3 separate regions of the Homo sapiens genome follow, and regions 1 and 3 are each linked to region 2. Evidence: promoter capture Hi-C in human tissues and cell types (Jung and others, 2019). All regions are on one chromosome and are shown on one strand. The core of a region is centred on a gene start or on the middle of the fragment in contact, and the rest is flanking DNA. Distances in the headings are between cores, read along the strand shown. Region 1 overlaps CYFIP2 (cytoplasmic FMR1 interacting protein 2). Region 2 holds the start of FNDC9 (fibronectin type III domain containing 9). Region 3 overlaps CYFIP2 (cytoplasmic FMR1 interacting protein 2).

Region 1 (2,700 bases), core at 3-2,502, 55 kb before region 2:
TGTATTCGTTGGCTTGGATACCTTAACAAAGTGCCACAGACTAAATGGCTTAAACAGCAAAAATGTATTTCCTCCCCGTTCCGGAGATTAGAAGTCCAAGATCAAGGTGTCTGTAGGTTCGGTTTTTCCTCAGACTTTTTTCCTTGGCTCCCAGATGGCTGTTTCTCTCTGCATCCTCACATGGTCTCTTCTCTGTGTGCACACATCTCTGGCACCTTCTTTCTGTGTGTCCAGATTTCCTCTTTTTATAAGGACACCAGTCAGATTAGATCAGGGCCCTCTCTAATGGCCTCATTTTAACTTAATTACCTCTTTAAAGGCCCCGTCTCCAAATACAGTCACATTCTGAGGTCCTGTGGGGTTAGGGCTTCAACCTATAAATTTGGGGGGCACACAATTCAGCCCATAACAGAAGGCTTTAGTTTATTTAATAAAAAATTAAAAACAATGGAAAAATCTTTATCCTTAAAAGAGATATGAACAGAACGCAGCTTGGGGGACAGATTCCATGTGTTAGTCATATGTAGAATGAGTTGCAAGTAGGAATGAGGCAAATAAATTAGTCAAGATAATTAAAGTTATCTACACTGCAGGCATTCAAGGCTGAATGAGGGTGATGGCACTGGGGTACAGCTAAGAGGATATGGATGTGAGGGACACTGGCTTAGCAGTCACCTGGGACTGCACTGACTGAGTTCCCAGGAAGACCAGGTCAAGACACCAACAGAGCAGTCGGAAGGAGGGGTTAGGTTGGAGAGTGATAGTGTTCATTTTCTGTTACTGCCCTAATAGAGTGTCACAAACTTAGTGGCTTAGAAGAACACTGATTTATTTGCTTATAGTTTTGTAGGTCAGAAGTCTGACGTGGGTCTTACTGAGTTAAAATCAGGGTGCCAGCAGGGCCGCATTCCTTCTGCAGGCTCCAGGAGAAAGTCTGTTCCCTTGCCTTTTCCAGCTTCTAGAGGTGTCTACATTCCTTGACTCGTGGCCCCCAGCCAGCAGTGACATCACTCTGATCTCTGCCTGCATCTTCAAATCTCCTTCTCTGACTCTTCTGCCTCCCTCTTTTGCTTATGAGTACCTTGTGTTTACACTGGGCTCCCCAGGATAATCCAGAACAACCACCACCACCCGCCTACCCCCATTGCAAGGCTCTTAATTGGTCACATCAGCAAATTGCCTCTTTCCATGTGAAGGAACATATTCACAGGCACCAGGGATTAGGATACAGACATCTTGGGGGGACCATTATTCTGCCTACACAGGGAGAGTGTTGATGTGGCTTAGGCATGAGTCATGAGTGGCATGCAATGCTGACATTCCTGGATAACACCAAAATCTCCCTTCAGTCAACAGTGTCTTCCTCGTGCCTTCCCCAGTCTTTCTAAGGTAGCTTATTAGCAGCAATGTGGGTGTATGAGATGCTCATCTTCTTGTATGTCTCCTGTCCCCACTTGGGCAAGGTGAATCTCTCAAAGGACAGGATAGCCAGAGAAAAGAGGAGGAGGGGAAGTACGTAAACCACATAACTGACCAACTATATGGAAGAGTTGAGGGTTCTTTGCTGGGGTGAGATGGGGGCTGAGTGATCACTGGATCTGTCACTACATAAAATTTGAGCTACACTCACATTGGGTTTAAGTCATGGACTTTCAGAATATTAGAAATGTAAAGGACCTTAGAGATCCTTAGTCCTGAAGCTGTCAATGTGGGCTGCACAAGAGAATCAACCTGGGGATTGTTTAAAAACACCAGTGCCCCACCCCATCCCCAGGGATAAATATTTAGTTAATCTGGGGCATGGCTTAGGCATCAAATTCCCCAGGTGACTCTAATATACAACAAGGGTTGAACACGAATGATTCAGGCCAACTCTTTACCTCCAAGTAAGGAAACTAAGACATTACAAGTTAAAAGGTGGGCCCAAGAAGAGTGAGGACCAGAACTCAAGTTTCCCAAGACCCCACCCAGGGCTCTTTCCACTGCACCATCCTAACCTCTACATTCTAGCATAATTGCATGACAGATCTGGCTGATGGCCAAACTGTCCGTAGGGCAGAGTTCACATTCTTCTTGTTCACTGCGCTGTTTGCAGCACAAAGCACAGAGCCTGGGACCCATGAGTGCCCAGTTAAACATTCACTGAATGCATGAGTCGGAATTAACACCCGTCGGCAGGCAGGTTGGTGCTACAAGTAGACACGTGTTCCTTACGTGACTGTCACTTCCCCTTTTGGACATGTGTTCTGAGGCAGATGACTGCGGGACCCACGGGCTTGATTGGTTCTCCCTGTTCTCAAGGACAACATGTTACTGATTTTTAAAGTTCTCTAAATTAATCATTGAAGTGTGACTTGTCAATGACATTTGCTGCTGAAAACAGAACTGTCATAAGTAAATTGATCTGCTGTTATACTAATAAGATATTATGAAATGGTGGTATGTGGATTTAAAAATAAAGTTCATTTTTTAATATAGATATAAACATTTATAAAAAGAGATGGCCTAGTAAAATTCTTTCTTTGGTGATTTTTTTTTCAAAGTGTATTTCCATTTGAAGTGTACAATTCAGTAGTTTTCAGCATATTCACAATGTTATACAGCCATGGCTACTACCTAACTTTCATCACCCCTAAAAGATGCCCTGGACCTGTTAGTAGTCAATCCCAATTCCTCTCACCCCACCACCTCCTGGAAGTC
Region 2 (2,713 bases), core at 17-2,516:
TAGAAAAAGGACTTAGTGCCGCCTAACCACTACATTTCCTAATGCAAGGCTGCCGGGTTTAGTTACAGACGTTATCGCAAAATGAGGTGCCAGGACTGAGACCCAGTTGCTGTTTTTCCAGACAAATCAAATGAGCCCTCTTTAGATTGCCAGGCCCCGCTTTGATAAGAGAGAGCCATCTTCAAGTATTTTAGTTTCTCTCATGCAGTTCCCTCTACTGATTGCCCCTGATCAGAAATACAGAGACAGTCATAGTCAGCCTACGCATATTCACATAACAGTCTCACCCTGCTTTGTCTTCCGCCTCTCCTCCCTCACATGAAACCCCGTAGGTTTCATTTTGGGTTGCAGTGACATAGTAAACAGCTGTCAACTGGATTTTCGCCTGCATTGGATATTAAGCCAAACCAATGGCTATTATGACCTGCCTTTCTCTCACCTCTGCTTTCCCCCATCCTCTTGTGTTTGTGCCCATTTTCCTCCAGGAGTGGAGCTGCAGAAAGGTGCACAGCATTGAGTAGTTTCTTAATCCTTGTTTTTCTTCTGTAAGGGTAACAGTGAACTAAGATACTCAGGAAGGTGAATAGTGTCTTTCTATGTGGCTGAATATTTCTTCCCAGTAAATAGGGAACGAAAGGGATGAGACGGATGTGCTCAGACCCTTCCAGGGAAGGTCATCATGAAGGAGACCGAATGTTTATGTTTCCTAGCTTGGTGTCCTCTACACACTCATCCTCCCCACACCACACATCACTATAAATACACTTTCGACCACGATGAAAAGAGCTTAATTCATTATAGGCAGCCACCTGTGTAAAACCTTTCCATCAGGAGTAATCAGGAATCCTGTTTCTTGTCACGCACAAATGTTCTCTTGGCTTCCTATCTGCCACTAGCTGTCTGTACAGATGGAATTACCTCAGCAGACATTTTTAAGAGCTTTCTGTCAAGACGCAAATAGCATCCTCACCTTTTAGGACCAGGTCCGTCTCCCTTATTGATTTTTCTTCCTCTGTTTCCGTTTCTAAATTCTCCCCTATTTTTAACTATTCATTTGCCCGGCCCTTCTCCAAGCAGAGTGTGAAAAGAAGCCATTTCCATTTCCAAGAAGAGCCATCTATATGTCTTACCTGATGCTTGCAGCGTGTCTGGTTAGAGCTCTGCCCTCCGAGGTGCAGTAGATTAAAGCTGAGAGAATGGGGCCTTCTCCCTCCTCTGCTCTGGGCTTTCCGTGTTGTTTCTCTCAACACTGAGTAATCCCACTGCCGCCCCTAATGCTCACATTATTCATTTCTTCAGATCAGCATCATTCACCATGGCAACCAGCAGGCATCTGTACGCACGATGCTTTCAGGGACCAGCCTGGAAAGGCTTTTGCCCAGTGAGAGGAGCTCTCATTCCTTTGGCTGAAAAAGGGCAGATGATCCCCTGAAAACTGGTCCCCAGTGCAGTACTAATTCTTCTAACACTCCTACATTTTCTCCCCAGTTGGCTGATTATTATTTTCTTGTCCCATCTAGATCCTCTTTGGCCAATGGTTTTAAATGCAAAGATGCTTTTCTCAGTTATTCCACAACCAAAGCAGTAATATTCATCTTCATCCCCTCCCACCCCTACACTTCCCCATCCCAACTGCCTACCCCACCTCTTTATCTTCATCTTTCTTTATTCTTGACTCATGTGCCATTACATAGTTATATGGTACTGGTCAAGACCCTTTTATTTTTATTGTCTGAGTCTCAGTTCCACCATCATCTGTAAAGCTGTGGGCTTGGGCTACATCAGGATGGCAGATCAGAAGGCAGAAGACCTGAGCCCTATCCCTGCACAGCCCTGAACCCCTGTCAAGCTTGCTAAACCATCATGGCACTCTCACTGGGTTGAATAATGCCCCCCCAAAATACATATCCATCCAGAACCTTAGGATGTGACCTGATTTAGAAATAGAGCCTTCGTAGATATAACTAGTTAAGGATCTCAAGATGAAATCTTCCTGGATTTAAGGGTGAGCCCTAAATCCAATGACTAATGTCTTTGTAAGAGAAAAGACAGAGAGACTCAAGGGGAAGAAGCCAAGGGAAAACAGAGGCAGAGAGTGGAAGGATGCTGCCATCAGCCAAGGAACACCGGGAGCCATCAGCAGCTGGGAAGGCAAGGAAACATTCTCCCCTAGAGCCTTGGAGAGGGCATGGTTCTGCGAGAGCCTTGATTTCAGGCTTCTGGTCTCCAGAACTGTGAGAGAATAAATTTCTGTCATGTTAAGCTGCCACATTTATGGTAATTTGTGATAGCAACCCTAGGAATCTAATGCAGCACTGCTTCCAGCTGGGTGCAGAAACAGCCCCAGAGTTCCTCTGAACACAAGCGTCCCAAGAAACTGCTTCCCAATCAATCAGTTGGAGTTGACGCCAGAAATGGAAACTGTTTGCTACTCCTGGATTGAATCATCCCCAGCGTTCCTTTCCTTTCAAGAATCCAGACTGCTTGCCTCCCCTTTTCTCATAAAGGGCCGTCTGGCTTTGAGGTTCCATCCCTTCCTGTTCCTTTCAACCTTGTAAGAACCCATTGCCACCATTCTATTGAGATCACAGGGTGTGTCTGGAATAGAGGGTGGAAAGTAGCTCAGATAGATGTAGACCTGAATAAATTTATACACATTATATGTTTTTAAAAGTCAGCTTTTCTCTTCTTGGTTCTTGGCCAAAGTATCCAA
Region 3 (2,700 bases), core at 153-2,652, 50 kb after region 2:
AACATTTACTTCCATTTTCTAGACTGAACCAAAAGTCTTCTGCAGAATCTCCCACCGAGTGTGGTAAGAAGGAAGGACAAAAGGCTTTAGGATATAAATTTCATGTTACAGAGCATGTCATTGTCAAAGGAAATCTGTGGCCCTGAGATTTTAAGAACATAAAATGTGACATTTGATATTTCTCCAGCCCAGGGAAGTAAGATGGTTAGCAATGGTTGCCTTAATCAAATGGTCCCATTTTTAACCCCAAAGGAAGTGCCCACAGCAAGAGGTTTGTGTGATGCACTTATGTCCTCCGGTGAGGAAAGGGGGCCACATATGAAAGGCCCCTTAGGTCAGATCCTGAGAGTAGCACATTTGAGTGCAGATTCCTGGGCCCCACCTCAAACCTACTAATTCTGAATCTCTGGGAATAGGGCCAGGAAATCTGCCCTTTCTACAAACTACCCAAGTTGTTCTGTTGCACATCAATGTTTGGGAACCACTGCTGTAAGGGAATCATTCTGGTCACCTTGAGCTTTGAGCTACCACTAAGCCATGAAAGAAAATACATCATACAGGGAAGAGAGAAGGGAGGAGGTTCCAAGTAGTAACTGGCAGATCCTCCTGTCTGGAGGTACCACCTTCTATTCTGGTTTCTGACTTTTCCTTCTTGATGACCATAGATGTGTTCCAGAGGCAAAAGAGACACATTATCCCAGATGGCAGAACATGCTTTCAAAACATATAAAATGTCAAAGTTCCAGATCCTTCTACATCTTTAGTCCTGTCTGAGGATGGTAGCTGGCTCTCTGTAGCTGATAGATGGCTAGAGTTCCATCCAAATCCTTGACCACGACTTCATGGAGATTTGAATAATCTATTTGATGAGATTTCTATTTCAATAACCCACCTCTCTCACCCCACATTCATATCCCTAAATTTGACCCTCTGGGCCGAGTCACATTACCTTCAGGAGACTTGATCCCAGTAGACTGAGGTCTTCCCTTTCAGCAGAAAGATTTCATTTCCCTGGCTTGCCAGTGGCACTGATTTCCGAACACCCAATGAGTTTAATATTCTTTCCTCCTTGGCATTACTGCCCCAGCCTCTTTTTATTTTTTTTGTGTGTGTCTAATAACCAGGAAAAAAATAAAGCTTAGGTTTTAAAAAGTTTTAAAAATAATCTGTTTCAGAAACTGTCAAATGTACCATATTTGTATTAAGAGTTGTTGGGAATTTTTGTACAATGAATTTACATTTATTTATGGTGACATATTTACGCTTGTGATCAAATAATGATGTTAAATTCTTAAATCATATTTGCTATGCAGCTGAAGATGATATTTTGATTTGTATTTTGGGGGTACCTGTGTTGAGTTGATAAACATTTCCATCTTCATTAAAACTGCTTCCAAACTAGTAAAACCAGCAACTTGGTCTTGATTCCTGGTTCTATTCTAATCCTCATTGACCTGTAGAAGGCCATATTAAAACTAATTACTAAGCAAACAACCTAAAACAGAATCAAAGAAAAATATAGGTTAATGCACAATAAACTAATGGCTTTGCTTGCTTTCCCACGTGGGGGATTACATCTTTAACAAATTGAGCCTCACATTTCACATAGCACAAGCTTTCCTAAAGGTCATCCACTAAGATGAGTCCTAGGGCTGTTTCCTCTTCTGTCAAGTTGGACAAGTTGATCTCTTCTAGCTCTGATATCCTGATTCTAGGTAATTTCCCACTGGTGCACTTTGAGGGGTCTACTTCACACACTCAAAGTCTTTCTCAACGTATGTCATCACCTCATAAAATTGCCATCACAAGGAGTCATATTTGAGCTAGTGTAGTGGGAGGGCTATTAGCTATTAGATGCTCAGTGAAAAAAGGGTTCCAAAGAAGATAAATTTGGGGAACACTTCATGATCTTTCCCTTCGAAGATCCATAAGACTCTGAGGAGTGCTGCAGAACCTTATCAGTCTAGATCAACACCCTATCTCCTAGATGGTTTTATTAGTCTGTTTTCACACGGGGATAAAGACATACCCAAGACTGGGAAGAAAGAGGTTTAATTGGACTTACAGTTGGACATGGCCAGGGAGGCCTCAGAATCATGGCAGGAGGGGAAAGGCACTTCTTACATGGCAGTAGCAAGAGAAAAACGAGGAAAAGGCTAAAGCGGAAACCCCTAATAAACCCATCAGATCTCATGAGACTTATTCACTATCATGAGAACAACATGGGAAAGACGGGTCCCCATGATTCAATTACCTCCCCCTGGGTCCCTCCCACAACACGTGGGAATTCTGGGAGATACAAGTTGAGATTCGGGTGGGGACACAGACAAGCCATATCCTTCTGCCCCTGGCCCCTCCAAATCTCATGTCCTCACCTTTCAAAACAAATCATGCCTTCCCAACAGTCCCCCAAAGTCTTAACTAATTTCAGCATTAACCCAAAAGTCCATTGTCCAAAGTCACATCTGAAACAAGACAAGTCCCTTCTGCCTACGAGTCTGTAAAATGAAAAGCAAGCTAGTTACTTCCTAAATACAATGGGGGTACAGGTATTGGGTAGATACAGCCATTCCAAATGGGAGAAATTGGCCAAAACACAGGGGTTACAGGCCCCATGCAAGTCAAAATCCAGCAGAGTGGTCAAATTTTAAAAATCCAAATTGAGCTCCTTTGACTCCAGGTCTCACATCCAGGTCACAC

What was found. The method cuts DNA at HindIII sites, captures the fragments that hold promoters and counts their contacts. A contact is called where the count stands out against the background at its distance.
Region 1: a fragment that was not itself captured here is called in contact with the fragment with the promoter of FNDC9 in region 2 in 1 of the 25 tissues and cell types used here (hippocampus).
Region 3: a contact is called between a fragment that was not itself captured here and the fragment with the promoter of FNDC9 in region 2, in 1 of the 25 tissues and cell types used here (hippocampus).

The regions. Positions count from the first base shown.
Region 1 is chr5:157,289,382-157,292,081 of GRCh38, forward strand. All of the region lies in intron 3 of CYFIP2 (cytoplasmic FMR1 interacting protein 2), which reads left to right. Among named protein-coding and RNA genes, the nearest start is that of CYFIP2, 25 kb to the left of the region's middle. RefSeq lists a silencer at 2,282-2,331. The HindIII fragment of the contact is 6,760 bases long and covers 1-2,700 here.
Region 2 is chr5:157,344,411-157,347,123 of GRCh38, forward strand. It overlaps FNDC9 (fibronectin type III domain containing 9), which reads right to left and starts at 1,267. Exons shown (of 2, transcript NM_001001343.4): 1 at 1,131-1,267. The region is part of intron 23 of CYFIP2 (cytoplasmic FMR1 interacting protein 2); the gene reads left to right. The HindIII fragment of the contact is 6,264 bases long and covers 1-2,713 here.
Region 3 is chr5:157,394,185-157,396,884 of GRCh38, forward strand. CYFIP2 (cytoplasmic FMR1 interacting protein 2) reads left to right here. Exons shown (of 31, transcript NM_001037333.3): 31 at 1-1,410. The region is part of intron 1 of NIPAL4-DT (NIPAL4 divergent transcript); the gene reads right to left. Among named protein-coding and RNA genes, the nearest start is that of FNDC9, 50 kb to the left of the region's middle. The HindIII fragment of the contact is 4,768 bases long and covers 1-2,700 here.